Regions from separate parts of the Homo sapiens genome. Here all the other regions are linked to region 6. Evidence: promoter capture Hi-C in 16 types of primary human blood cells and fetal thymus (Javierre and others, 2016). All regions are on one chromosome and are shown on one strand. The core of a region is centred on a gene start or on the middle of the fragment in contact, and the rest is flanking DNA. Distances in the headings are between cores, read along the strand shown. Region 1 overlaps DLEU2 (deleted in lymphocytic leukemia 2). Region 2 has its middle 16 kb from the start of MIR3613. Region 3 overlaps SPRYD7 (SPRY domain containing 7). Region 4 has its middle 22 kb from the start of SPRYD7. Region 5 has its middle 4.3 kb from the start of SPRYD7. Region 6 holds the start of DLEU7 (deleted in lymphocytic leukemia 7). Region 7 overlaps DLEU2 (deleted in lymphocytic leukemia 2).

Region 1 (2,700 bases), core at 190-2,689, 740 kb after region 6:
CAATCTCCCATTTGATATTTGTCTGCATTGTGACTCAATTCCTGAAGGTTCTGTTCTTCATTCCTTTCTGGTAGAATCACTGAAAAGAAAGGAGATTACATTTACATTTGCTTTCTAGTCAATCAGGTTTTTCTTATTCGCCCAGCAACACTTCTCTACAGAGAGTTTGATGAAAAGTATTTTATGTTTTATATAGGCTAGTGGAGACATGGGTATGGCAGGATGGGAGGGTAGGGAAAATATCAAGAGGCTATAGTCTTGATATATAGTACTCTTGATATAGTACAAGCTTGATATTTAATAGCTTGAATTAAATGGGCAATTTTAAAAATGAAAAGAAACATATCTGCAGTGCCTTACAAAGAAGTAACTATAAGAAGTAACAAGTTTAGTGATCATTTACCTATAGGGAAGAAATAAAATAAGGAAATGAACCTAAGATTGTAAACTTAAAGGTCCAAAAACTTGTGTTGTCACCAACAACAGCCAAGAAATTTGGAAGAAATACCTTGAAGGAAAAAAATAATGTCAGATCTAAGTGGGATATTACTAGAAGACAGAGGAGAAGCTTTCTTGATAAGCTATCTGGCCTGTTGATGTACATATGAAAGTCATCATCATACAGAAATTGAGTCCAGGCGCAGTGGCTCATGCCTGTAATCCCAGCACTTTGGGAGGTCTTGAGCTCAGGAGTTCGAGACCAGCCTGGGCAACATGGCAAGACCCCATCAATACAAAAAATTTTAAAAAGTTAGCCAGGCATGGTGACACACCCTTGTAGTCCCAGCTACTCTGGAGGCTTAGGCGGGAGGATCACCTGAGCCCAGGAGTTGGAGGTTGAAGTAAGCCTGCACTCCAGCCTAGGCAACACAACAAGACCCTGTTTCGTTAAAATAAATAAATAAAAGAAAGAAAAATTGATTGACATTCTATGGACTAATGAGGGAATGGAATGAAGATCAAATGGTTGTATATGAACTTTGATTGCAAGATAAGCTACCAATTACTGACAAAAAAAATTGAGTAACATACTGCATGATTCCACATATATCAGTTCTAGAAAATGCAAACTGGTCTCTAGTGACAGAAAACAGGCCAGTGGTTTCCTGGGGAGAGAGGTAAGAGGAGGCAAGGATTATAAAGAGGCAAGGGGAACTCTTAGGAATGATGGCTATCATCAGTTGTATTTCTTCCTTTCTAACTTGAATGCGATTTATTTCTTTTTCTTGCCTGATTGCCCTGGACAGAACCTCTGATGTTGAATGAAAGTGGTCAGAGCAGATATCTTTGTATTATTCTTTATCTTACGGGGAAAGGGAAAGCATGCAGTTTTTCATCATTATGCATAAGGCTATCTGTAGGATTTTTATAGATGTCCTTTATCTGGTTGAGAAAGTACCCTTCTATTCCTAGTTTGCTAACAGGTTTGGTTTTTTTTTTGTTTTTTTTGTTTTTTTTGTTTTTGGTTTTTTAAAATCAGGAACAAATATACGATTTTGTCAGATTTTTTGGGTGTCTATTGAAATGATCAGATTTTCTTTTTTAGCTTAATATAGTGACTTACAATGATTAATTTTTTAATTTAAAGCAATGACATATTTTTGGGATAAACCTCATCCAGTAATATTAACTTTCTTATATTTTGTTGGATTTGACTTGTTAAAGTTTCGTTGAGAATTATTACATCCATGTTCAAGAGGGAAACTGGGCTATAGTTTTCTTTTCTTGTAATGGCTTTGTGTGGTTTAGGTATCAGGGTAATGCTGGCCCCCAAAAATAAACTGAGACGTATTCCTTCCTCTTCAGTTTTCTGGAAGATTTGTATATAATTGGTATACACAGTGTTATCCCTAAGTGTCTGGAAGAATCCACTAGTGTTTCTTTGTGAGAATATTTTTAACTATTAATTTTTTAAAAATAGATACATAGCTTTGGAAGTTATCTATTTCTTTTTCTTTTTTTTTTCTTTTTTTTCTTTTTTTTTTCTTTTTTTTCTTTTTTTTTTTTTTTTTGAGACAGGGTCTCACTCTTTCACCCAGGCTGGAATGCAGTGGCATAATCAGGGCTCAATCTCGCAAGCTCAAGCGATCCTCCCGCCTTAGCCCCCCAAGTAGCTGGGACTACAGTCATGCACCACCACACCCAGCTAAATTTTTTTGTATTTTTAGTAGAGATGGGGTTTCTTCACATTGCCCAGGCTGGTCTCGAACTCCTGGACTTAAGTGATCTGCCCACCTCAAACTCCCAAAATGCTGGGATTACAGGTGTGAGCCACTGCACCTGGCTGTACTTCTTTTTGAGTAAGCTTTGGTAGTTATGTCTTTCAAGGAATTTGACCATTTCATCTAAGTTGTTGAATTTTATTTGCTTAAGGTTTTTCATAATATTCCCTTGCTATTCTTTAAGTATCTGTAGAATTTGTCATATTTCACCTCTCATTCCTGATATTGGTAATATGTGTCTTCTCTCTTTTTTTTTTTTTTTTCCTGATCAGCGTGGCAAAAGATTTATCAATTTTATTTATCTCAAAGAACCAGGGTTTGGTTTCATTAATACTCTCAATTTATTTTGTTTTCCATTTCATTTATTTCTACTTTGATCTTTATTATTTCTTTTGTTTCTTTGTGTTTAATTTGTTCTTCTTTTCTAATTTCTTAAGGTGGAAGCTCATTAACTTGAGACTTTTTATATTTTCTAATA
Region 2 (2,961 bases), core at 292-2,791, 860 kb after region 6:
TCGCCACCTGACATACTTTGTATTTCTTTGATTACTGTCTCCTCCCACTAGAATGTGAGCTCTGTACAGAAGCAATATGCTAGCAGCTATAAGAGTGTCTGGCACATGGCAGGCCCTCAGTAAATATTAGTTGAATGAATGAATGAAGAGTTTGCATGCAGCAATGGGGAGCCAGATCAGGTACGGCCTTGTAAGTCCTGGAAAAGACTTTGGGTTTTATTTTAAATATGAAGAGAAGCCATTGGAGAGCACATCATCTGATATACAGTTTAGAAAGATCACTCTGGGCTAGGAGTGGTGGCTCATGCCTGTAATTTCAACGCTATGGGAGACTGAGGCAGGAGGATCACTATAGGCCAGTAGTTCAAGGCCAGCCTAGCAGCCATGCACGGTGGCTCACACCTGTAATCCCAGCACTTTGGGAGGCCAAGGTGGGCAGATCACCTGAGGTCAGAAGTTCGAGACCAGCCTGGGCAACATGGTGAAACCCCAACTCTACTAAAAATACAAAAATTAGCCAGGCATAGTGGTGGGCGCTGGTAGTCCCAGCTACTCAGGAGGCTGAAGCAGGAAAATCACTTGAACCCGGGAGGCAGAGGTTGCAGTGAGCCAAGATCACACCACTGCACTCCAGCCTGGGCAAAAGAGCAAGACTCCATCTCAGAAAACAAAACAAAACAAAACAAAAAACCAGCCTAGGAAACATAGCGGGACTGCATCTCTACAAAAAATTAAAAATTAGCCAGGTGTGGTGGTATGCACCTGTAGCCTAAGCTGCTTGAAAGGCTAAAGTGAGAGGACCACTTGAGCCCAGGAGATTGAAGCTGCAATGAGCTATGACCACACCACTGCACTGCAGCCTGGGCAATAGACTTAGACCCTGTCTCAAAAAACAAACAAACAACAACAACTAAAAAAACCCACCCTGCCCATTGTGTGGAAGGAAGATGGTACTAAGGGTAAGAGTGGCCCCGGGGGACAGTTTGGAGGCTAATGCGACATCTAAGCAAGAAAGATAATGAGGACTTGAGCTAGGGTAGGAAAAAAGGTCATATTTTAAAAATATATTTTGGAGTTATAGCTGACAGAACTTGTTAATAAATTGGAGGAGGGGCCAAAGAGGAAAAGAGAAATGGAGGATAACTTCCAGGCTTGGGGCCTCAATACTGAATCTCCCTGAGCCTGTTTACTGTTCTGTAAAATGAGGGTAACTGGGCCCCCCCACCATGGGATCTCTGTGAGGAAGGAGGTAGAGGATATAGACTGCCCATACTGACAGGCACATGGTAAACCCTCAGTGCACAGTAGCTCTTATCATTGCCCCAGTGATGACTGTATTTCCCCTGCTTCATCCATAAATAGGATTACAGAAATAACCACCCCATAGAGACTGGGGAAAAAAACTTCTTGTAGAGTGTACCCTCCCCTCCTAAGGGATAGACTTGTACTTTAACAGAATACTTAACAGTAGTGTTGAAACATGTTATTTGCACACAGATAAATAAAAGGATTCCTCATATTTCAAAAGAAGTGTAACACTGTTTTAAGTAGTGTTTGTCCATTCAATACTTAATAGCAGGAGTAACTAAAAGCTGAAATTACAAACCCCTGCTGATTAAAAATAAATCAAAACATAAGATATAAAGCACATGTGAAATAATAATGATTTTTTTTTTTTTTTTTGAGACGGAGTCTCGCTCTTGTCACCAGGCAGGAGTGCAGTAGCACGATCTTGGCTCACTGCAACCTCCACCTCCCAGGTTCAAGCGATTCTCCTGACTCAGCCTCCCGAGTAGCTGGGACTACAGGCACCGTGGCACCATGCCCAACTAATTTTTGTATTTTTAGTGGAGACAGGGTTTCACCATGTTGGACAGGATGGTCTCGATTTCTTGACCTCATGATCCACCCACCTCAGCCTCCCAAAGTGCCAGGATTACAGGCATGAGCCCCCGCGCCTGGCCATAATAACGATTTTTTTTTTTTAGATGGAGTTTCGCACTTGTTGCCCAGGCTGGAGTGCAATGGCATAATCTCAGCTCACCACAACCTCTGCATCCTGGGTTCAAGTGATTCTCCTGCCTCAGCCTCCTGAGTAACTGGGATTACAGGCATGCACCACCATTCCTGGCTTTTTTTTTTTTTTTTTTTTTTTTTTTTTTTTGTATTTTTAGTAGAGACAGGGTTTCTCCATGTTGGTCAGGGTGGTCTTGAACTCCTGACCTTAGGTGATCCGCCCACCTTGGCCTCCCAAAGTGCTGGGATTGCAGGGGTAAGCCACCGCGCCCCGCCGCAACAATGACTTTTTTAAAAAACAGGCATTTACTGCATTTTCGTACACTAGAAGCTAAAATACCATGCTGTCCAGTTCAAAACAGGACACCTGGCAACCCTGTTCCTAACAGCTTTCTGCAAAGCCAACACCCAGTGCTTTCTGGCTGCATTGGCCTGTCCTCATTTCCCCCTGGAAAACTTGTTTTAAACAGTACAGATAACATTCTGCCTCTATTACAATTAGCAGCTTCTCTCACCAGGTTATCTAGTGTGGCAAGTGCTAGTGCGGAGTCACTTAGTATCTTCTTTCAAAACCTCCCAGTGGCTGCCTTCAGGTAGCATGTGAAAAGCTGCTCATGGGGAATTCAGCAGCTGCTTCAGGCCCTCCAGGGCATTTCTTGCTGGCATCTTCTGCCTCACCAGATCGCCCTGATTATTAGTGATCTGGGCCCCCTACCTAATGGAAAACCAGCCACTCTTCTTCCCAGCCCCAATGGATATTGATGAGGGGTCCTTAAATCTGGGATCCTTTCCCCTCCTTGCCCAATAATTGAACTCCTAAAATCCTTTTACTACCTGGGAATCTGCAAAGACAACCTTGAATTTGAACTGGAGCTAGAAGGACTTCCTCCGAACGAATTTGCCCATAGATGACTCTCTGGTACATGGTCTCTGTTGTTCAACTTT
Region 3 (2,927 bases), core at 144-2,643, 920 kb after region 6:
TAAGGATAGTTTCTGTTCCCCATGTATTAAAATAAACTTGCTAAATACAATGATTACACTTAAATATGCAATAACCGTACTCCCTTTTTCAACATGTAGTTTTATGTTTTAGAAAGTTTCAAAAAGCTTTACTGAATTTAGAAAACTTTTTCTGCAAGTCATTGGGAATGATTGCATGGCCAGGAAACATAATTATAAATAATATTTTGGAATTAGAGATGGGAATTTTATGTAGACTGTACATTAATAACCCTTACAAAATTCCTTAAATGTTAATGCTCTTCTGAGGGAAATAGTGACTTAGAATTTTAATTTTAACTTTAATTTTTTGTTTTTTTGTTTTGTTTTGTTTTGTTTTGTTTTGTTTTGCGACAGAGTCTTGCTGTGTCCCCCAGGCTGGAGTGCAGTGGCCCGATCACAGCTCACTGCAGCCTCAAACTCCTGGGTTCAAGCAATCCTCCCACCTCAGCCACCCCAGTAGCTGGGACTACAAGTGTGCACCACTATTGGGATTACAGGCATGAACCACTGCATCCGGCCTACCTTAATTTTTATTATAGAAAATTCCAAACATGTACAGAAGTAAAAAGAATAGTATAATAAACCCTCATATACCCATCAGCCAGCTTCAAACAATTATCAACTTGTAACCAATCGGGTTTCATCTACACCCCCCCACCCCCAATGCTGCTATTGTTCTTCACTTACCCTCCTTGGGTTATTTTGAGGCAAATGCCAGGTAATATATAATTTTATTCATAAATGTTTTATTTGTATCTCGAAAAAAAGGTCTCTTTCTTTTTTTTTTTTTAGAAAAACATAACCACAATGTCTTTATCAATCCATTCTGCTTTATTTTTTATACTATCAACTTTTTTTTTTTTTTTTTTTTGAGACAGAGTCTCACTCTGTCACCCAGACTGGAGTGCAGTGTTGTGATCTTGGCTCACTGCTGCCTCCGCCTCCTGGGTTCAAGATATTCTCGTGCCTCAGCCTCCAGAGTAGCTGGGATTACAGGTGTGTATCACCACACCCAGCTAACTTTTGGGGTTTTTTTGTATTGTTTTGTTTTTTTTGAGACAGAGTCTCATTCCATCGCCAGACTGGAGTGCAGTGGCACGATCTTGGCTCACTGAAACCTCCGCCTCCCAGGTTCAAGCGATTCTCCTGCCTCAGCCTCCCGAGTAGATGGGACTACAAGCACGCACCACCACACCCAGCTAATTTTTGTATTTTTAGTAGAGATGGGGTTTCACCATGTTGGCCAGGATGGTCTTGATCTCTTGACCTTCTGTTCTGCCCGCCTCGGCCTTCCAAAGTGCTGGGATTATAGGTGTGAGCACCTGGCCAACTTTTATATTTTTACTAGAGATGGGGTTTCACCATGTTGGCCAGGCTGATCTCGAACTCCTGAGCTCAAGTGATCTGCCCACCTCGGCCTCCCAAAGTGCTGAGATTATAGGCATGAGCCACCGTGTCCAGCCTATTTTGTATTATCAACTTTAAGTAAACAGGTATATGATTTTTCTGCCTTTGGTTTTGTAAGTCTAAAAATATTTTCTCATTTAAGTTCTTAAATTTGGGTTATAATAAGAACTAATTAGGACTGGCGTGGTGGCTCACACCTATAATCCCAACACTTTGGGAGGCCGAAGCCGGTGGATCACTTGATGTCAGGAGTTTGAGACCAGCCTGGCCAACATGGTGAAACCCCATCTCTACTAAAAATACAAAAAATTAGCCAGACGTGGTAGCGCACTCCTGTAATCCCAGTTACATGGGAGGCTGAGACAGGAAAATCACTTGAACCCAGGAGATGGAGGTTGCAGTGAGCCGAGATCATGCCATTGCACTCCAGCCTGGGCGACAGAGCAAGACTTAGTCTCCACAAAAAAAAATAAAATAAAATAAAATTAAAAAAGAAAGAAAAATAACTAATTAGGCCAGGCACGGTGGCTCATGCCTGTAATCCCAGCAGTTTGGGAGGCCAAGACAGGTGGGTCACTTGAGGTCTGGAGTTCAAGACTAGCCTGGCCAACATGGTGAAACCGTGTGTGGTGGCACACACCTGTAATCGCAACTACTCAGGAGGGTGAGGCGGAGAATCACTTGAACCCAGGAGGCAGAGGTTGCAGTGAGCCGAGATCACACCACTGTGCTCCAGCCTGGGTGACAGAGCAAGACTCCATCTCAAAAAAAAGAAAAAAAAAAAAAAGAACTAATTTAATTACATTTGTTGTAGTTTACTATAAAAGCAGCACTGGTGCAATGACTCATGCCTGTAATCCCAGCACTTTGGGAGGCTGAGGTAAGAGTTGCTCGAGTCCAGGAGTTGAAGACCAGCCTTGAGCAACATAGTGAGAACACGTCTCGACAAAAAATTTTAAAATTATCCAGGTGTGGTTGTACGTGCCTGTAGTCCCAGCTACTTGAGAGGCTGAGCTGAGAGGATCTCTTGAGCCGGGGAGGTCAAGTCTCCTGTGAGCAGTGATCATCGTGCCGCTGCACTCCAGCCTTGGCACCAGAGTAAGACCCTGTCTCAAAAGCAAAATAAAATTAAAATACTAAAATAAAAATAGCAGTATCAATGATGACAAACTGGGATGTCAGAATTATACAATAACAAATATAAATAATAATATGATAATAGCCAAAGCTTGTGATTACCTTTTAGTTTAAGGTTTTCATTAGCCTTCTTTTCTCCTAAAATTACTTTTCAGTCATTTTACCTTCTGTGTCCTTGCATGTAAATGTGTGTTTTAAAACTCAATTTAGTGTTGCATATTGGGTAAGCCTAAAAGCAATTCCTTTATTTACTTGAGTAAATGGAAATTTAGCTTGATATTTGAAATAGGTTAGCCTGAGAAATAAAATAAATATCAGTAGAGTGACAGTTATACAAGTTAACTGTAGCAAATAAGTTTAAT
Region 4 (2,847 bases), core at 98-2,597, 880 kb after region 6:
GTTTCACCATGTTGGCCAGGCTGGTTTCAAACTCCTGACCTTGTAACCTGCCCACCTTGGCCTCCCAAAGTGTTGAGATTACAGGCGTGAGCCATTGTGCCTGGGATAAAATGTGTTTCTTGTAGACAACATATAGTTAGGTCTTGTTTTTAGATCTACTCAATCTTTGTCTTAGTAAAATTTAGATCATTAACATTTACAGTCATTATAGATATAGTTGGATTAATATATCATATTTGTTACTGCTTTCTATTTGTTGCCCTTGTTTTTTATTCCTGTTTTTGTTTTCCACTGTTTTTCTGCTTTTTGTGGTTTTAATTGAGCACTTTATATGATTCCATGTTCTCTTCCTTCCTGGCATGTCACTTATACTTCTTTTTTTACTTTCTTTAGTGGTTGCCCTAGAGTTTGCAGTATACATTTATAATTAATGCAAGTCCACTTTCAAATAACACTGTACTACATCATGGGTAGTATATCTTGTAATAATAAAATATCATTAATTCATCCCTCCTGTTTCTTGTATCACTGCTACAAAACATCACTTTAAAAAATTTAAGAAGATACAAATAAATGGAAAGACATCCCATGTTCATGGATTGGAAGGCTTAATATTGTTAAAATAACAATACTACCCAAAGTGATCTATAAATTAAATGCAATTCCCATCAAAATTCCAATGGCTTTTTGTTTTTGCAGAAAAAATTTAAAAACCCTGAAATGCATATAAAGTCTCAAAGAATCCCATATAGCCAAAAAAATCTTTAGGAAGAAAAACAAAGCTGGAGGTCTCATACTTCCTATTTTGAAAGATATCACAAAGCTACAGTAATCAAAATAGTATTATACTGACATAAAGACAGACACACAGACCAATGGAACAGAAGAATTAGCCCAGAAATAAGCCCTCACATATATTGTCAAATGATATTTGACGAGGGTGCCAAGGCCACAAAATGGGGGAGAGACTAGTCTCTTCAACAAATGATGTTGGGAAAACTGATTACGTCCAAATTTTAAAAAATGACTTTACACCATGTACAAAAATTAATTCAAAATGTGTTAAAGGCCTGAACATAAGACCTGAAACTATAAAACTCCTAGGAGAGACAAATGAAATGGTTTTGCTCCCAACCTCTCTGGTCATATTAGTCAGAGTGGCTGATGGAGTGGCAAGCTTGTGTAAAAACTCAAGTTTGGTCAAGAACATATTGGGCTAAGGGGTGTATTTTTCCAACAGGCAATCTGTCACTGGCCTTGAGTATCCCCATATATTTTTGCTAGGCATACCAAGAATGCAAAGCCCTGACCATTCTTTACCAGGGCCATTTCTCAAGATTGTGTTTGCAGCAAGCAAACCTGAAGGATGGGGTAATATCTCCCCGAAACAGCAGGCTGGCTTCCACTTGCCTTAAAAACAATGAATGCCCCAAACTCAGTGTTTCTTTCCTCTAATGCAACCAACTACATTCTAAGGCATCCATCACGAGCCCTTTGTGTCACTTCCAATAAGCTTTGTGGGGCATGGAGACTGACACAAACAAACACGAAGTTCTGAATACTACTTTTGCTGTGGGCAATAAAATCCTTTGTCTCTGACTCAGGAATCTTCTGTCTCCTGCCAGCATCCATGAAACCAAAACAGGCTAACTTGTTAGTTTATAAGTGGGGCAAAATCCCAGGCCTTGCACAGCTCTTGACAGTCCCACATTCTGTATTTAGCTGACTGCACTCTAACAGTTATTTAACTTGTTCTTTACCCCCATATTTTTTATAGACTGAAAAATAAATATAGAAATTTCATCAGATTCAGGTTCAGCTTTTAAGGCAGGAATACTTTGCAAGTGGTGCTGTTTTCTTATTGCATCACATTAGGAGACACAATGTCAGGTTTTCCACTTTTAGTGATACTAGGCTTATTCAGGTTATAGTTTTACCATACATTAATGATCCATTATTTCATTAGTTCCTTTAACCACTAGAATTCTTCAGTAATAGAGAACTTTCTATCATCAACTTTGTTGCCCTAAAATTACTTCAGCCCTTCAATCTAGGCAGCAGGGCACTCTTCCCTGGCTTCCTTGTTCCAGGGGGCCCTGTATTTTGGGGTATCTTCCTCACAGTTTTCTGAGTCTCCCTCTGATCCCTGGGACTGACAAGGGCTATCAGATCCATCCACGTGAGGTGCCCCCATCCCACACTGGGACCTGTGTGTGTCCTAGTTTCTGCTTTTTCCTTTTGGGGTAATCTACAACCCTCTATCCCATACTTGGGATGGACCAGATGCCCTGAGAAGATACAAAAATCAGAGCTGGAATCCAAAAAGGAGACCTGGAAAGTGAATTGCTCCTGTTGGCACAGTATTTCTTTCCAGAGATTGTGCAAGATTGGGTTGTCAAATGGTGATAACATGCTGATTTTTAATAACTCTTGGCTCTGGGCTACCTGTGGTTCACTATCAACCCTTGAGCTTGAGCCATGTGTGTGGATCTGTGTATCCTACAGCACCCCATGTACCTCATGTCACTGACACTCAATGCAGTCACCCCACAACACACAGGCTCTGCACCTCATGTCAGGCAATCCTTCAGGAGTGGCAGTGCCTATCTCCCTTGAAGGCTTTTGAGACCATGCCTCTACAATGTCAGTCAGCCCTTTTAATCAATATCCTCTCCTGCTTCCTATTAACTTGATGACATCATGATCTCCCTGGTTGATCTTAAGCTCTGCTGGTCAAATAACGGACATTCCTTGTGTAAAGAGGAGAGCCTCTCACCAATCCTCCCTACCAGTGATGGTGTGTGAAAGGTAGGTATGTGGTCAACAGAGGAACGTTCTAGGAATATA
Region 5 (3,010 bases), core at 266-2,765, 900 kb after region 6:
ATTTTTACATTCACAAAAATAAAATTATAGAGACTAAATGGCATTGTATCTATCCTAAATTAGTAATGTTGGGTACATTTTAATAATCCATGTGACCTTCCTTGTTACTAGAAATATTTTAGGGTCTTTCTCACAATTTCAACAAAATATTTATAATTTTGTTTGGTTGCAGATATTATATATACCCAGAAGTGTTTTTTTCTTCTGTCTGGTCCTTTCTGCAAATGTCGAGTACTTTTTCACTTTATAATCTGGAGATGGTGACTTCTTGCTCCTTGACCCCTACTGTACTTCAAAGACACAGAATCACTTGAATGCTTGAGATGCTTTGGGAAGCTTTTATTTGAACTATTTGGCACAGCTAAGTGTTCTCCAGCCTTTCTCCCATAATACCAGATTATGTAGCCTTATCTTTGGCCATGAAAACTTTGTACACACTTCTCATCAGCCCTTTCTACAAAGTCACAGGTTTAAATGCCCTCCTGTTAATAAGGAGCATAGATCCAAGGACGAACTTTACTTGTCCTCATCTTCCTTTATTTCTTTTGAAAATGCAAAAAACTACTTTGGTTTTGACCTTTGCTTTGTCTCCCTTTTGTATCCTCAGTATCTATTTTCGCTAATTATTGCCACAGTAGTACTTAGAATCTAAATTGGCAAGGAAAAGTACTTAGAAATACACTAGGGTACTTGCATTTCGAGTAAGGGAACTTGAGGTTGGGCAGGGATCACAGAAATCCCCTTGGTTTATGACAGTCTGCTTTATTTTCCATGGAAGGTAAGCAGAATAAGGTACAGTTCTAGGTTGAAAGTTTTTGGTAAATCACATTTTCTATTCTCTGAGACCTTTTTTATGTAGCACTTGCTATTGCTTTTTCTTCATTTTAAATATTAAAAAAATTGTTCTATTTTTATTTCTTTTGTACCTTTTTCAAATTCCTTTATTTTACCCCAGCTTCTTTTTCTTCCTAATGCCAAGTCTCTGCATTTTCCAAGTCTCCAACCTGGTTTACCTGTCTTAGCAATTAAAAGTACTATGTTGACCAGGCTGGTCTCAAACTCCTGACTTCAGGTGATTCGCCCTCCTCAGCCTCCCAAAGTGCGTTTCTACTAAAAATACAAAAATTAGCTGGTTGTGGTGGCGGGCGTCGGTAATCCCAGCTACTCAGGAGGCTGAGGCAGAAGAATCGATTGATCCCAGGAGACAGAGGCTGCAGTGAACTGAGATCGCACCATTGCACTCCAGCCTGGGCGACAAGAGTAAGACTCTGTCTCAAAAAAAAAAAAAAAGTACTAAACAGGCCAGGCAGGGTGGCTCATGCCTATAATCCCAGCGCTTCGGGAGGCCAAGGTGAGTGGATCCCTTGAGCCTAGGAGTTCAAGACCAGCCTGGGCAACATGGTGAAACCCCATCTCTATAAAAAACACAAAAAATTAGCCAGGCGTGGTGGTGCCACTGCACTCCAGTCTGGGCAACAGAGTGAGACCCTGTCTCAAAAAAAGAAAAAGAAGAAAAAAAGTACTAAATATCGTTTTTTTTTTCCGGTAGAGACAGCCTGTTAAGGACAAACCTGCAAAATATTAATATTCAAAGGCACCGCTAAGAGAACCAACTAATGGCAGTCTGTTGCAGTTACAAGGTTGACGTTATTTTCCTTATTTATTTTTGGTTGTTCAATCTAGGTAATATAACTTATAATTCAGGAAATCCAGATTAAATGAGCACAATTCATGCCAAGTAAATTTAAATGTCAGTCTCTGAGGAAAGGGGATAGAAGGAGACAAATACAAATTAGGAATGTATATTCATTTTTTATTTTTTTATTTTTTTTTTGAGATAGAGTCTTGCTCTGTCACCCAGGCTGGAGTGCAATGGCACGATCTTGGTTCACTGCAACCTCCGCCTCTGGGTTCAAGCGATTCTCCTGCCTCAGCCTCCCAAGTAGCTGGGATTACAGGCACACACTGCCATGCCCGGCTAATTTTTTTGTTTGTTTTTAGTAGAGACAGGGTTTCACCATGTTGCCCAGGCTGGTTTCGAACTCCTGAGCTCAGGCAGTCCATATCCCTCGGCCTCCCAAAGTGCTGGGATTACAGGCGTGAACCACCGCACCAGACCTAGGAATGTATTTTTAAATGTAACACCCTAGGAGGCAGTTTGCAGAGTGGTTAAGAACACAGACCCTAGAGCCAGAATGTCTGTTTGAATTTAGCTTCATCCTTCATTGACTGTGCAACTTTTGAGTACATTTCTTATTTTTTCTTCAGCTTCCTCATCTGTAAAGTGGAGGATAGTTTTTCCCTCACATGGTTGTTACAAAGACTAAATTAGTTTATTTTTAAAAAACACTTAGAACAGTGCCTGGCAATAATAAGCACTACATAAATGTCAATCACTATTAGTTACTCAAAATTATAATAATGAATTGGTCAAGGCTCCAGAAATATGTCAGTTTTTAGAAAAATGAGTTTTTGTTAATGTTTCTGATTTTTAAAAAGATCACAAATGTGGTTTGGATTAGTCTAAGGAAAAATGTTTTGTTTAATAACTGATTAATGAGTTTTTAAAAACTCATTTCGTATGACCCAGTACAGAATGGGAAATTCACTAACAGAAGACGTCCAGCTGGCATAAAAAACATTAAAGAAAATCTTAAGCATAATGCTAATCTCAACTCTGAAACACAAGCTTTACATTATTGTTCTCAGTTCTCGAGTTCCTGGCATGTCTTGGAAGCAGACAGACTCTTTTTTTGAAGTAGTCATTCTTTCTTATTGCTTATGACTTAGATAAATGACCTTGAGAAACTATTTTTGGCTTTATTTGTGATTGTTATTTAAAGCGATAGCTGTGAAAGAGTGTCAAAACATCTTTAACGTTGTGCTTTTCAAAAAGAGAGGATAATTCCTTTGAAAGTAATAATGAATGGATATTAGAATCCCAGATATTAGAAGGAAAAGTGAGCTCATGGATGGTGTTAATCTGCCAAGACAGGGAAGTCTGTTTCAG
Region 6 (2,750 bases), core at 191-2,690:
TTATTATGAACTTAAGTAACTTCATGGCAAAAAAATCTAATCAACATTAAACTATTTACTTCCCTCCAAAGTAATTTCCTCTCTGTCAATGCACAGACGTGCATTTTTACTTAGTTATAATTAGTGTGAACATACTCGTTTTTGTTTAAGAAAGGTTTTCTTTACCTTGGCATTCAGATTCGTTTTCATAGGCGAAGAAAGCACTGGGAAGGAGAAGGAACCTTTGCTGGCAAGTTGGGAGGATTATATGGGGTCATACTATCCCAGGGTTAAGGAAACCTTAAAGGACCCAACATCCCTCTCCATATCTCTTCTGATGATCCTTTTGTGCTCACAGACTAACCAGTGTGGCCTTTTCACTCAAAAGCCTCTCCAGATCTGCACAGCACCAAGGGTGCAGTCTGGCTCCCAAAGGAGTAATGCAATTCCATCCTCAGGTCTGCCAGGGCCCACCTGTCTGTCGTGGGCATGCACCATTGCCCTGGCTTTACTGGGCTGTTGGGTTGTCTAGTGGTTTTCCTTGCAGAAAGCAAGCAGGAACAATGCTGCTCCGGACTGGTTTTCCATACCACTCCTCTCAAATATCTTCTATTTTCTTAAGTGTGATCACACACCCATGGTTTCCAATCTATCAAAGCATAACATTGCTAGTCGCTTTTTTCTAAGTTAAGGAAGTAGCCATGTTGGGTTTAATTAAAAACAGCAACTATTTGTACAGCTGTCCCTAAGTTCATGGCTCATAAAAGGATTAACTTCAACCTTGCTGCCTAAGTCTTTTGGGAGTGTCACAAAAAAACATTTAGGCTTTTCTGGGCAGTGCCAGGCCTGGGCCTTGAGGCTTGCTGATGCTAGTTCAGCCACCAGGCTCTCGGTGCTCAAGTGGCACCCAGCAAAGCAGAGAAGAGCAGAACTTCCAGATACACAACTCCTCCTTCTTTTGTTTGGGGGATGCAAGGCCTTGAAGGCTGCTTCAACAAGTTTCTGAAAATTCCCCTCGGGTTGGGAAAGGCACAGTCTTCCTTTTGCAAGTTTTTCTAGAGCCCTTCGTACTTTTGCCCTAGAGTGGGTCTTTTGCACCCCCACCTCCCAGACCTCAGTGGTCATTGGCAGGCATCCTTCGAAGGAGGTGGGGGCGGGGTATCCCCGCCGATGGATGCGCCCGCACAAAGCAGCACGTTTTCTCATCAAAGCCCTGGAGAGAGGGAAGAAGCAACGCTCAGCATTTCGCTGATTTTCAAGTGCACACCGAGCAGCGCTTCAGGCAGCTTTGGGTCAGAACACGCCTGATTCGGACTTCAGGCGAAGGCAGAGGCCAGCACGGGTCACCGATTCAGAGCCGGGGGCGGGGCCGACCACACACGCTGTGAGACCCAGAGGCCGAGGAGCCGCGGGTTAGAAAATGTGACCTTGGCGACCCCAACGCCCCCGCCTCCCTCGCTGCTGCTCCACCTGCACGCGGAGCGCGCCGGGCCGCCAGCGGAGGCGATGGCCAGCCCTGCGCCCTTAGTGGCCTCCATCAGCCACCAAATGGTGGCTCTGCAGACCTTGCAGCTGCTGCAGCAGGAGTGGGGCTGGGGGGACGGTCCAGTCGCCCCCGGGAACCCGCGGGACCCAGACCACGTGTCCACCGCTCCAGCCCGTCGCTCAGGCCCGCCGCGGGCCCGGCCGGGGCCCGGGCGCGAGGAGCGGGGCGGGGGCGTGGGGACCAGGAGTCGGCGGACCGCGGCGCGGGCGAACTCCCCAGAGGAGGAGGTAGTGCGAGGCGCTGAGGGGGGCGCCGAGTTGCTGCCCTTCCCCCGGGACCGCGGGCCCTGCACCCTGGCCCAGATGGCGATGCGCAGCGCGCTGGCCCGCGTGGTGGACTCGACTTCGGAGCTGGTCAGCGTGGAGCAGACGCTGCTGGGGCCCCTCCAGCAGGAGCGGTCCTTTCCCATTCACCTGAAGGTGAGTCTGGCCCCCGCCATCCCCTCTGGCGTGCAGGGTAACCTCCCATCCTCCAAGGGTGGGGCTGCTGGGATGGCGATGGGTGGATCGCAGGATCCCAAACACTGCTGCCCACTGTGATTCAGCCCCAGTGGGAGAAGGAAGGGGGCGGGGGACACTCTGGGGACTCAGCAGGAGGGGCAGGGAGCCCCAGACCCACCTGAGGCCCGCCTGGCTGGCACAACCGAGATGTGGGGACTGCCTTGCCAAAACCTCCCCCTGGAACTCCTTCCTCTCTCACATAAATCAGCTTCCTGCGCTAGAAAGGCCCTTTCCACACGTGCAGCTTGTAGGGATAGAGGACAGCTCCCCCCACCCACTTTCCAAATTAATAACGCTTCCTCCAGAGCCTTAAATACACTTACTAAGTCCCTTCTGCCTTTTGTATGATGAAATCATCTACATTTATTTAAAGTTCCTTCACATTCATGAATCACTATTATTTTTTGCATAAATCCAATTCCCCACAGAGCTAAGGGGTCTTACAGAGTCAACCTACATTCTCATAAAGTGGGGTGAGAGCTGGGTGGGTCCCGGGTGTTAAAGCGTGAATACTAAATGCTAAACTCTTGCTAAGTCACCCAGCTCATATAGGTAGGGCACATTTCCTCTTAAGGTACCAAACTGTGTTAGCCAATTTAGCCCGGGAAGGGAGCAGCTGTCTCCCAGGCTGAGTGAGATTGCGGAAATCTGGGGGTCTGGGTTTCAGTCCTGGACTTGCCATTAACTAACCTAATTGGTTTAAGGTCACGAATCTCTCTGAGACA
Region 7 (2,927 bases), core at 249-2,748, 810 kb after region 6:
CTAGAAGAGAGTCAGCCTTCAATATATTCATTTTAGAGATATTTAGTATACTGACATATTACTTAAAATAGCAGATGGGAAAAATTAAATATAATCTCATAGATTTATGTGGAAAATTCAACATCATCTTAGAGTTCTGGAAATTGTGTTTAACTTTACCATTTATAGAAACTATGTTAGATTTCATTTCTCTTACTCTTTGTCAGATCGACACCTTGACTGTGTGAGACGTGATTAACAAAAAGGAAAACTACCCCCACTGGAAGTTGTTAAAGGAAAGGCAATGCAAATGAAAAAAAAGAAAAAGAATTTCTAAAAGTTTTATCAGACAAAAATTTAATTGAATCAATGGGGCAATCTGGAGTTCTGGATGATTCTGTTAATTGAAGTTTACAATCACTTTTATTTTATTTTTATTTATTTACTTATTTTGAGACAGAGTCTCACTCTGTTACCAGGCTGGAATGCAGTGGCGCGATCTCAGCTTACTGCAACCTCCGCCTCCCTGGACCAAGCGATTCTCATGTCTCAGCTTCCTGAGTAGCTGGGATTACATGCGTGCACCACCACACCCAGCTGATTTTTTTTTTTTTTTTCTTTTTGAGACAGAGTCTTGCTCTGTCGCCCAGGCTGGAGTGCAGTGGCGTGATCTTGGCTCACTGCAAGCTCCGTCTCCTGGGTTCACGCCATTCTCCTGCTTCAGCCTCCCGAGTACCTGGAACTACAGGCACCCATTACCACACCTGGCTAATTTTTTGTATTTTTAGTAGAGACGGGGTTTCACCGTGTTAGCCAAGATGGTCTCAATCTCCTGACCTTGAGACCATCCTGACCTTGTGATCTGCCCGTCTCAACCTCCCAAAGTGCTGGGATTACAGGCATGAACCACCGCGCCCGGCCGTTTTTTTGTTATTTTTATAGAGACGGGGTTTCACCATGTTGGCCAGGCTGGTCTCGAACTCCTGACCTCAGGTGACCCGCCCGCCTCGGCCCTCCAAAGTGCTGGGATTACAGGCATCAGCCACTGCACCTGGCCTAGTTTTTAAAAAAATTTTATTTAACACCTGTAAAGCTTCTGGAGTATAATCATTTTAAACCTTGTTTGAATATTTTCTAAAACATTAATAAAAATGGTAATATTTCAATATATTTTCTTGCCTTAATAAAGTATATGCTGAATATCATTACATTTTATAAATAAAGACATACCTTATTATCAAGTCTTATGTAATACAGTAGTGTCTCCCATTTTCCATGTAGTTACACACAGTCAACTGAAGTCTGGAAATATTAAATGGAAAACTCCAGAAATAAACAACGTTTAAGTTTCAAATTGTGTGTCATTCTGAGTAGCATGATGAAATCTTGCACCATCTTGCCTAGGATCGCAGTCATCCCTTTGTCCATTGTTTCTATGCCGTAGATACTATCTGCCTGTTAGTTACTTAGTAGCCATCATGGTTATCAGACCCACTGCCCCAGGATTACAGTGCTTGTGTTCATATAATCCTTATTTAATTCATAATCCTTATTTAATTCATAATGGCCCCAAACCACAAGAGTAGTGATGCTTGCATTTTGTTAAATTGTTTTATTTTACTATTATTCTTGTTAATCTTACTGTACCTAATTTACAAATAAAACTTTATCATATATATTTTTAGGAAAGCACATAGTATATATATATAAAGTTACATACTATCCACAGTTTCAGGCATTTACTAGGGGTCTTGGAAGGTATCTCCTGTGAATAAGGGTGAACTACTATATTCTGTAATGTAGGTATAGAGGTTTTAAAAATTGTGCTGAATGTGTTTTAAGCCAAGGATGTTTGATGTTTGATTGCAATTTTTCCTAAGATTGACTTTTTTTTTTTTTTTTGGAAGTAGAATGCTAGTGACTAATGCAGGTTAACTAAAGCTTCAACTTGAATAATCTTCATTTCCTTTAAGCAAAATTTCACTTCATTCCAAACTGAACAAAATTACATTGTATTTATGATTTCACTACACATTTGAAAGATGCACACTCTAAAGGATTCAAATTACAAACCTTTTCCGTTATAACCTAGTGGTTGTTAGCAAGGCTATGTATTTGTAAATGTCTCCTACTGCCAGAAATTGTTTGTTTCAGAGGGGATTGGATTATCAAGAATGGCTGCTGCTTTTGTTCATGGCTGTGTTGTGTATAAGTGATAGAGTTGGACAGTTTTATTCATATGCACATCTACTTTTTAATAGCATGATGATCTGAGGTGATAATTTGAGGCTTCAAGTTCTGAAAAGAAGAATGAATATAGTTTTATTTAATCAAAAATAGTTATTGTTAAAATACTACTTTTAAATGCCTGAAGCGTTTCCTGCTTGCATTTTTAAAGTGACATTATCTTTATTATTAAGGGCCTACTCTAGGTGCGGTACTTCACTATAGTTTATAAAAGATGGTCCCTGTCAGCAAAGAACTGTAACCTGTATGAGAATATTATACTAACATACAAGAAACAAGTAGAGAATAATGGAATGTAAACTCTGGCTTGCTAACTTAAGTGTGGTAGAAGCTTGAAGGAAATGTGGACTTAAACTTATCAGAGAAGACTTATAAGAGGATATGAAAGGTGAGCTGGGCTGAAAAAGTGGTTAAGATTGATTATGTGAAATGAAGGAATGATAACTTGCGAGTGCAGAAAACAACATGAACCAAGACATGATGAAGTAGCAAGGAGTAAAGTAGATACAGTATAATGAAGGCAAAGAGTAGATACTAGGGAATTGGTAGGGAAATGAGTATAATCATGTTTGAGATTGTTTTCCTTCCTTTGCATAATTTACCCTCATTTCTAATCAAAGAAAACAAGGGTATTCAGATTGCCTGCAGCCCTTCAAGAGCCATGGTGTGTTGCTTTGAAGAAAAAAAAACAAAAAACTTGT

The links. The method cuts DNA at HindIII sites, captures the fragments that hold promoters and counts their contacts. A CHiCAGO score of 5 or more calls a contact.
Region 1: a contact is called between a fragment that was not itself captured here and the fragment with the promoter of DLEU7 in region 6, in 1 of 17 cell types (fetal thymus). The highest score is 5.4, in fetal thymus.
Region 2: a fragment that was not itself captured here is called in contact with the fragment with the promoter of DLEU7 in region 6 in 12 of 17 cell types (naive CD8 T cells, total CD4 T cells, naive B cells and 9 more); the score reaches 12.2 in naive CD8 T cells.
Region 3: a contact is called between a fragment that was not itself captured here and the fragment with the promoter of DLEU7 in region 6, in 1 of 17 cell types (naive CD4 T cells). The highest score is 5.4, in naive CD4 T cells.
Region 4: a contact is called between a fragment that was not itself captured here and the fragment with the promoter of DLEU7 in region 6, in 8 of 17 cell types (total CD8 T cells, total B cells, total CD4 T cells and 5 more). The highest score is 9.4, in total CD8 T cells.
Region 5: a fragment that was not itself captured here is called in contact with the fragment with the promoter of DLEU7 in region 6 in 1 of 17 cell types (naive B cells); the score reaches 8.1 in naive B cells.
Region 7: a contact is called between a fragment that was not itself captured here and the fragment with the promoter of DLEU7 in region 6, in 2 of 17 cell types (naive B cells and total B cells). The highest score is 5.5, in naive B cells.

The regions. Positions count from the first base shown.
Region 1 is chr13:50,102,083-50,104,782 of GRCh38, reverse strand. The region is part of intron 1 of DLEU2 (deleted in lymphocytic leukemia 2); the gene reads left to right. All of the region lies in intron 2 of DLEU1 (deleted in lymphocytic leukemia 1), which reads right to left. Among named protein-coding and RNA genes, the nearest start is that of DLEU1, 21 kb to the right of the region's middle. The HindIII fragment of the contact is 1,737 bases long and covers 571-2,307 here.
Region 2 is chr13:49,978,845-49,981,805 of GRCh38, reverse strand. No RefSeq gene overlaps it. Among named protein-coding and RNA genes, the nearest start is that of MIR3613, 16 kb to the left of the region's middle. The HindIII fragment of the contact is 4,590 bases long and covers 1-2,961 here.
Region 3 is chr13:49,917,692-49,920,618 of GRCh38, reverse strand. The region is part of intron 4 of SPRYD7 (SPRY domain containing 7); the gene reads left to right. Among named protein-coding and RNA genes, the nearest start is that of SPRYD7, 17 kb to the left of the region's middle. The HindIII fragment of the contact is 2,530 bases long and covers 129-2,658 here.
Region 4 is chr13:49,957,242-49,960,088 of GRCh38, reverse strand. No RefSeq gene overlaps it. Among named protein-coding and RNA genes, the nearest start is that of SPRYD7, 22 kb to the right of the region's middle. The HindIII fragment of the contact is 336 bases long and covers 1,180-1,515 here.
Region 5 is chr13:49,939,171-49,942,180 of GRCh38, reverse strand. No RefSeq gene overlaps it. Among named protein-coding and RNA genes, the nearest start is that of SPRYD7, 4.3 kb to the right of the region's middle. The HindIII fragment of the contact is 2,353 bases long and covers 339-2,691 here.
Region 6 is chr13:50,842,382-50,845,131 of GRCh38, reverse strand. DLEU7 (deleted in lymphocytic leukemia 7) reads left to right here and starts at 1,440. Exons shown (of 2, transcript NM_001306135.2): 1 at 1,440-1,944. The coding sequence starts at 1,486. The region is part of intron 4 of DLEU7-AS1 (DLEU7 antisense RNA 1); the gene reads right to left. RefSeq lists an enhancer at 1,584-2,510. The HindIII fragment of the contact is 9,888 bases long and covers 1-2,750 here.
Region 7 is chr13:50,028,965-50,031,891 of GRCh38, reverse strand. It overlaps DLEU2 (deleted in lymphocytic leukemia 2), which reads left to right. Exons shown (of 14, transcript NR_152566.1): 9 at 2,400-2,614. Among named protein-coding and RNA genes, the nearest start is that of KCNRG, 15 kb to the right of the region's middle. The HindIII fragment of the contact is 848 bases long and covers 1,075-1,922 here.